Linked DNA regions of Homo sapiens: all the other regions are linked to region 2. The links are contacts of gene promoters, found by promoter capture Hi-C in blood cells and fetal thymus (Javierre and others, 2016). All regions are on one chromosome and are shown on one strand. The core of a region is centred on a gene start or on the middle of the fragment in contact, and the rest is flanking DNA. Distances in the headings are between cores, read along the strand shown.

Region 1 (2,700 bases), core at 186-2,685, 260 kb before region 2:
AGAGAGCTTCTGCTTTCTGACACCTAAAGTGCCCCAGCATTATAACAAAAGACTGTAATAAGGGCTATGGGAGTGATAAACTGGGAACTGTGGATGAAAACACACACACACACACACACACACACACACACACATATACAATCTCATAATATCACACCATATTTTTACTATGTTCTCACATGGCTGAAGGGGGCAAATGAGCTCTCTGGGGTCCTTTTTACAAGAGCACTAATCTCATTTATGAGGGCCTCTAACCTGACCTAATCACCTCTCCAAGGCCCTGCCTCCAAATGCCATCACCTTGGGGGTTGGGTTTCAACATATGAATTTTGCAGTGACACAAATATTCAGTGTTTAGCAGGTCTATGGACACAATGAATGGTGTTAATACTTCTAAAATGGGATTAATGGTAGGGCGGCTGACGACATTAATGACAATTATTCATGGAGAACACTAAATGTTCAGAAAATAGGAATTCCTGCTGCTGTCTTTGCTACTGTTCAGCACCCAGAACTTTTCAAATTAGAGGATATCACTGCTTCCATGCACGCTCATGCCCAGAGAGTGACTCTGGCGAAGGCTTTGAGCAATAATGTAAGATAAGATAAGAGCCTGGACCCCCACCTCTCAGATGTGATACAGAAGTGAACAGGGTACTCAACAAGAATTGCTCTCATTTACTGAGCATTTTCGGTGTGCCATGAGCTGTGATGGATACCACATGGCGTCTTTTCATACAATTTTGTCAACAATGCTGTGAGGTGAGTGGAGATGTTGAGGATCGGTGCAATCTATCCCTGCTGGAACTCAGGTCTGTCTGACTCAGAAGTCCATGCTCTTAAAGCAAGCCAAATACTTGTGGAATGTAAAATGCTAACCTCTGAGCACAGCCAGTCTGGGGACTGCCAGAGTGCTCTCTGATGCAGGAAAATACATCTGAGGACAGGGAAGCCGAGTGAGGTGCCCAGAAAAGACAATTTGGAAGGTGCAGGGTGAAAATAGAATCAGTCTCTCTTTCTCTCTACACACATATACACACACATACCATATTTGTGGCATAAAGCTTTCCACTTAGAGTCAGAAAACTTGGATTCGAGTATTTGTTGCTCTTTCACTTACAGGGATGTGAACTTTGGTAAGTCATTTCCCTAGTTTTGCCACCTATAAAATGGAAAGTCAGGTATTTCTCAATTTCTTCATAGAGTAGCACAAAGCTTAAATCCTATAGATAATGGATGTGAATGTTCTTTGTAAGCAGTATAGCAGTATTAATGGTATTTGATTTTTAAAATCACTTATACTCAATATTACCAAGATTTTGGATTGCCTCCTTCCCGGAAGACTTCCCTCCCTTTTCAAAAAATCATGATCATCCTTTTAGCAATGATTCTGTCCCAGAGGACAACCATGTGGATCAGGGAAAGAACAAATTGCCTTAATTTAGTTCCAAAGATATTTGAAGAGATCAATTTCCAGAGTGTTGTCAAGGGGCGAATGTGTGGACACTGAATTTTAGTGAAGAGTAATGGCTCACCTCTGTCAATAGAGGCAACAAGGAGCATGGTGAGGGTGGGAAAGCTGCCAGCCCGTGTAATCTGCAGCTGAGAGAGGAGGCTTCCATTCGAAAGCAAAAAGAGTTAGGTGGAAAAGCTTAGTTCCTGTCTTTTTCTTTTTGGAGAAATGTAATTACTGTGTTGATGTGTTGACCATTCAGGTTTGCTTGTTTTGTAATTATTTCTTCCTTCCTTTTTCTTTGTTTATCCTACCTTAATGGGATAATTAGACCTGCAGGTGCTCATCAAATACAGTGGGTGCCTGGGAACGCACTCCCTGGAGGGTGGGTAAGGCAGGTGCCAAGAGAGGGCCAATGCAGGGGTGCAGGCACAGGGCTGAGCATTATAGCTCTCAGCACTCGTCTGACTTGGACACTCCTTCCTGAGTGGGAGGGTGCACTTGTTAAAGTGTCTGTTTCCGAGATGTGTCTCTGGAGAGCACAGAGTGAGCCAGTGTGAGGTCATCTGGGTCTGCCCCTCTCATCCATGTGGTCTGACCACTTAGCCTTCTGAGTTTCAGTTGCTTCATCTGCAAAATAGTAATAATGATGCCTCCTGCTCCTCAAGGCTGTGGGGAGAATCGCATTCACAATGTATTCTTTTATTCCCTCAAAAGGTCTTAACTGAGCAACTACTGTGTTCCAGGCACTGGGAATATAGCCATGAAAATACAAAGATCTCATTCCCTAGGGAGCTCACATTCTACAAGTAAAATGTATAGCAAGTCAGACAGTGAGGAGTGCTGTGGAGAAGCATATCATGGGAAGCGGACAGGGAGTTTCAGGGGAGGTGGGCACAGTTGCAATTTTCCTTTAGGCCAATAGGAAAGATAACATTTGAACACAGTTCTGAAGTAGGTGAGGGAGCAAGCCAGGTAGATATCTGAGGGAGGAATGTTCAGGATAGGGGAAACAGTAAATGCAAAGTGATGTGATATGTGTGAAAATACCTTATAAATGGTAAAGAATTGTCTAAGAATAGCTGTTGTTATTATAACTCTTAAATACAGATAGCCTGATAACAGAGATTTTTCATCAATATGTATTACTGCCTTGTAGTGCTACAGAAGTCTTTCTACAAGTTCCTATCAAGTCTTAGCAACTGAGCAGTTCACGGAACTCCTCGGAGAAAGGCACAAGACGGTCT
Region 2 (2,700 bases), core at 190-2,689:
AGAAAGCAGAGCAACATGACTGCTATACGGGCTCTGACAAGTGACTTGAGAACTGTTCTGGAGACGTTTAGGAGGCTTTATTTAAACAACAGATTCTGCAGCTAAAAATAAGCATATACTGTATTTGATACAATATATAATAATACATATATTATTTATAAATTTATTATTCTGAAATACATAGTACATATGTATATATAATTATATATCATTTATGTATACATATACATATATATTTTATCTTATCCCATTATCTTATGGGAATGTATACGAAGGAATACTTACTCTGCCTAGGAGAACCAGAGAATGCTTTTAGGAGGAGGAGGCACTAGAGTGGGCCTTGAAGGATGAGCAGGGAGGGGTGAGGGGAGGGTCTGCTGAACAAGCAGAACTCCATGAACAAGAGTGTGGAAGTCTGAAGATGCATGGCATAGCTAATAGTCCATAAGGAATGGAGTAGGCCATACCTGAGGCAGGATGGGGCAGGCAGGCAAGCTGAGTAATAGGTCAGATGAAAACTATACCGAAGGTCCTGTGTGTCATTTAAAAATAAATTTGATTATCCAGGTCAGCAATTCTCACCCTCCTAACATGGTCAAGGAAACTGGTTCCTGCAACCTGGAGGCTTGCTGGGGGTTAAAGAGGGAAGTGGTGAGTAAGGGAGGAGTATTACTTGGTGACTCCATGAACTGGGTTTTAGATTTAGTTTTTGCAACATCATTCTATACTATTATCCCCAGGCCTTCAGTAAAGCAATGTTCAGAGTAACTGCTTGATCTTAGCCAATTCTTAAGATATTTAAAAAAAAAAAAAAGGCTCCGTCCCAGGCTTGTACTGAACAGTGCCAAGGCTTGGAGAGCTGGTGCAGCTGGGGGAAGCTGGTCAGGACTGCTGGGGAGACTGCAAAAGACTCTAGAGGTAGTCTGGAACAAATGACGTGGTGAGAAACTAGAAGGGAAAATTTATGGAATAGGGAGCCTTCTCCAGGGTTTTCCAGAAATATTTACGGAGGGAAACCTAGTAAAAGAAGAAACTTCCAGCAGTTAAACAAAATGGAGGTTTGGAGTCGTCTTATCATGTCGACCCTAAAGAGTACTATGACCACAATAGGATGGAGGCCCTGGTGACATTTACTCCTTCAACAAGCTCTCAGAGGAATAAATCATGCTAAGCTGAGCCTGAGCCTCTCTTCTCAGAAGAGCTATTGCCTGGGAAACCCACACTCACCAGCCAAATGCTCTCTGTTGGTATTGCTTCCACCCTTGAGCCAGGCAGTCTAGCTGAAGGTTGCCATCCAACTTCAGCGTCCATGTGGCCCGGGGTTTTGCCTCTTGGATTAGTTCTTGAAATGTCTGCTCCCAAGTCCAGAAATCTACAACCATTTTTTCCCTCTGAAGCTGAGAGAGTAGCTTTCAGGTTTGCTCGTTTCTCAGGAAGAGACAAACAGTTTCAGTTTCGGTGTTCGGTTCAGTTTCTGTTTCTGTGTATGGACATGAGCTGTTTTTTTCAACCTTCATTTTAGACTGTCTGAGTACACAGAACAAGTCTTTGTTCTGAAAACAGACAGCAGCAAAACTGTGTTAGTTAATAGGCCTTGCTGAGAGAGAGATAAAGAGCTCTGTTCTAGATTCTGGGGTCACATATAAATTCGCTTTTATTTTCTCTCTCTCATTTTTTATAATAGGCAAAGTGAGAGGTGACAGCATGCTGGTAGCCCTCGCAGCCCTCGCTCGCTCTCGGAGCCTCCTCGGCCTCGGTGCCCACTCTGGCCGCGCTGGAGGAGCCCTTCAGCCAGCCACTGCACTGTGGGAGCCCCTTCCTGGGTAGGCCAAAGCCAGAACCGGCTCCCTCAGCCTGCTGGGAGATGTGGAGGGAGAGGCACGGGCAGGAACCGGGGCTGCATGCAGGGCTTGCAGGCCAGCTAGAGTTCTGGGTGGGCGTGGGCTTGGCGGGCCCTGCACTCGGAGCGGCCGGCAGGCCCCCAGCCCTGGGCAGTGAAGTGCTTAGCACCTGGGCCAGCAGCTGCGGAGGGTGCGCCAGGTCCCCCAGCAGTGCCGGCCCACCGGCACTGAGCTCGATTTCTCGCTGGGCCTTAGCTGCCTCTCTGTGGGGCAGGGCTCGGGACCTGCAGCCCGCCATGCCTGAGTCTCCCCACCCTGGGCTCCTGCATGGCCCAAGCCTCCCCGACGAGTGCCACCCCCTGCTCCATGGTGCCTGGTCCCATCGACCGCCCAAGGGCAGAGAAGTGCGGGCACACACGCAGGACTGGCAGGCAGCTCCACCTGCTGCCCCCGGGGCGGGATCCACTGGGTGAAGCCAGCTGGGCTCCTGAGTCTAGTGGGGACTTGGAGAACCTTTATGTCTAGCTAAGGGATTGTGAATACACCAATGGGCACTCTGTATCTAGCTCAAGGTTTGTAAATGCACCAATCAGCACCCTGTGTCTAGCTCAGGGTTTGTGGATGCACCAATCAGCACCCTGTCAAAACGGACCAATCAGCTCTCTGTAAAACAGACCAATTGGCTCTCTGTAAAATGGACCAATCTGCAGGATGTGGGTGGGGCCAGATAAGAGAATAAAAGCAGGCTGCCCCAGCCAGCACTGACAACCGGCTCGGGTCCCCTTCCACGTGGTGGAAGATTTGTTCTTTTGGTTTTTGCAATGAATCTTGCTGCTGCGCAGTGTTTGGGTCTGCTCTG
Region 3 (2,700 bases), core at 198-2,697, 220 kb before region 2:
CAAAACATGAGACAAGCCATGGAAGGCAATGGACATGTTCAGCTTAGTGACCTCAGTCAAAAGAAAGCTCGCGGAGCACTTACTAGCTGTGTTCAAATTCCTGGAGGACCATGGAGTGAAGATGAGATTAGACTCGCATCATGCACCTTCAAGAGGCTGCATAACCAACAGATGAAAATTATAGAGAACAACATTTTAGCTGACAATCAGAATGATTTTCTAACAGCTGAGCTCTCTGAAGATGACATGAGCTGCCATTACATGAGCTCAGTTCTGAGAGGCAGTGTGAACTGTCCTTGGCAGAGGAGTTGTGGTTGAGTTATTGAGACAGCCAAGTGTAAAGGGATCCCTGGAGAACCTCTGACCTGCCTGCACACTGGGAGGACTGTGCATTTGGGTGGAGCCTCGGGAAGCTCATGCCGGTTGCAGTAGGCAGGAGCCTGGCCCCTCCTCTTCCTGGGTGGAAGCTGGGATTCAATCTGATGTGAGAGCATGTTTACAGGAACCTATCTCGTGTTGCTGAGTTTTTTTCCTTTTCGCCCAATAAATTCCATTTTTCTCACCCTTCAAAGAGTCTGCGAGCCTAATATTTCATGGTCATGTGGCAAGGACCCAATTTTTAGCTAAACTAAGGAGAAAGTCTTACAACATTATGATGGAAATTAAGCTGGAGCCATCAGAAAGTCTGTCCAGCACAGAGAATGATGGTATTCCTTCGTTTAAGAGTTCAAAATCTCTGCAGCTCAAAAATCACCTATCTAGCATAACTAAACACACACACACACGTTATTTTATCTTCCTGATTACAATCATGACAACCTAAATTGATTGAGCATTTACTATATGCCACAGAAGTTTAGCTCCTCATATGCTTTATTAAATTTAATCCTTCTCACTGTCCTATTGAAAGTTTATATTATTATGTATTTCATAGATAATTATGAATATTATAAATTAAGTAACCAATAATATTCAGATATTACTAAACATCATAGGCATGTAGTGAGGGAGCCAGGATTTCAATCCAAGTGTGTTTAATACCGGGATCCTAAATACTCTGCTTTTCTGCCTCTTTTCTTCATGAAGCTTAGTACATTGGAAATGCCAAAAATAACCTGGTTTGCGCCCAGAATAACTCAATGAGAATTGGAGGGGTGCTGAAGATAAACTAAAATAATATTATGATTTCTCTGTCATGAATAAGAGACAGCTATGCTCCATTTTGCCCAAGGAAGTAAAATTATCTTATTAATGAGAGAAGCAGAAATTCACAGCCCCAGAGGAGGAAACCTTCCCAGTTTTTGTGGTTCTCCATCAGTTTTAGATGGAGGGGGCTTCTAGATGTCAACCTAATTTATGGCTGCGTCCTTGAAGTTCTTGTGCAGGAGTTGAGGTTGGGGAAGAGAGTAGGGAAAAGAGGGTCAAGTCTGCTCTCCCGAGGAAGAACTTGTTTAACTTCAGAACCTTTGGGAGTTTGAATAATTAAAGGTGTGTGTGTGAGTGTGTTGTTTCCTGTGGAAGATTTTCTGGCCATGACTTCCGGTCATCACAGCTGCTTTAGCACATGCTCAAGGAGGAGTCACTTCAAGTCTGATTCAATTTTAAAATACTAAAAGAGAAAAGAGAAAACAGAAAAGCTCTCCTGCAACTCCTCAAGACAATAAGAAAAACAAACACAGAATTCCCTATGTCAGAAAAGGAGCTCTAGAGGCTCTTTTATCAGTTTGATGTTTGCAGCCACCCTGAGATGATGTTGCAAACTTTGGATTTTTCAAACAATTGATGATTTGCATTCCAAGAGAAGCTTTTCATTTTCTCTACTTTTCTAAAGGTCATGTTATACAAGGGATTCTTGAAGCTGCTTGAGTCATTTGATTCCACAGAGACTCAGGAGCACTGTGGAAATAGCCTCAACTAAGGAATCTGGATATCTTCAAAAGTTTTCAAAGCAGGGCCCTGGAAAGCATGAGAGTTTTAAATGTTGCCTTAAAACTAGTCTGGATTTCCCTTAAAAATACTGGAAAATATTGAAAAATATTTCCTCCTAGCACTTTGGAAGGCCAAGGCAGGAGGATCACGTGAGCCCAATAGTTCAAGACCAGCCTGGCAACATAGTGAGATCCTATCTCTATTAAAAACAATTTTGAATTGATTACAGACATGCCCTTGTCCCAAGGACAAAGGAGCACAGGAGAGGCATCCACAGCAAGAGATGCCAACATATTTTGAAAAGTCTGAAAGTGGGGTAAAGACCATGCCAACACAAGGACCCCAAAAGTGGGGTGCTATGAGAAGTGAGCTGATGTGACCCACAGAACCCTTACGAATCTCAGCTGTGGCAGAAAGAGCAGGGAGAGGGTGCTGGGAGCAAAAGCAGGGAGATTAGCTGGAAGCCTGAAAAAGAATCGTGAGCACTCCGGTTCCCTTTCTTACTACAGACTACTAGGGAGTTAGCCGTGCCTCACAACACTGGAGACCTGAGGCTTGCTCTCTTGGAAAACAGAATCATTTCATTCCTGAGTTGGGGCACCACACATAGTGCAAGGCTGATGTCTAATATATGGCCTAAAACACGGGGAAGGGGAAGGGAAAGATTTGCATACTGAACCAAGGAAGTCTCATTTCACTTTCTAACCGCATCCCACCCGCCCCCTGCCCCTCCCCCTGGGCCTTGGTAGCTGGAGCTCTGGCCACAGGGCA

Evidence for each region. Contacts are between HindIII fragments. The CHiCAGO score rates a contact against its expected background, and 5 or more counts as called.
Region 1: a contact is called between a fragment that was not itself captured here and the fragment with the promoter of RTP4 in region 2, in 1 of 17 cell types (megakaryocytes). The highest score is 5.1, in megakaryocytes.
Region 3: a fragment that was not itself captured here is called in contact with the fragment with the promoter of RTP4 in region 2 in 1 of 17 cell types (M1 macrophages); the score reaches 6.0 in M1 macrophages.

Annotation. Positions count from the first base shown.
Region 1 is chr3:187,622,917-187,625,616 of GRCh38, reverse strand. No RefSeq gene overlaps it. Among named protein-coding and RNA genes, the nearest start is that of SST, 46 kb to the left of the region's middle. The HindIII fragment of the contact is 436 bases long and covers 1,218-1,653 here.
Region 2 is chr3:187,367,124-187,369,823 of GRCh38, reverse strand. It overlaps RTP4 (receptor transporter protein 4), which reads right to left and starts at 1,439. Exons shown (of 2, transcript NM_022147.3): 1 at 1,228-1,439. The coding sequence starts at 1,382. RefSeq lists an enhancer at 1,229-1,578. The HindIII fragment of the contact is 4,178 bases long and covers 1-2,700 here.
Region 3 is chr3:187,591,198-187,593,897 of GRCh38, reverse strand. No RefSeq gene overlaps it. Among named protein-coding and RNA genes, the nearest start is that of SST, 78 kb to the left of the region's middle. The HindIII fragment of the contact is 718 bases long and covers 1,089-1,806 here.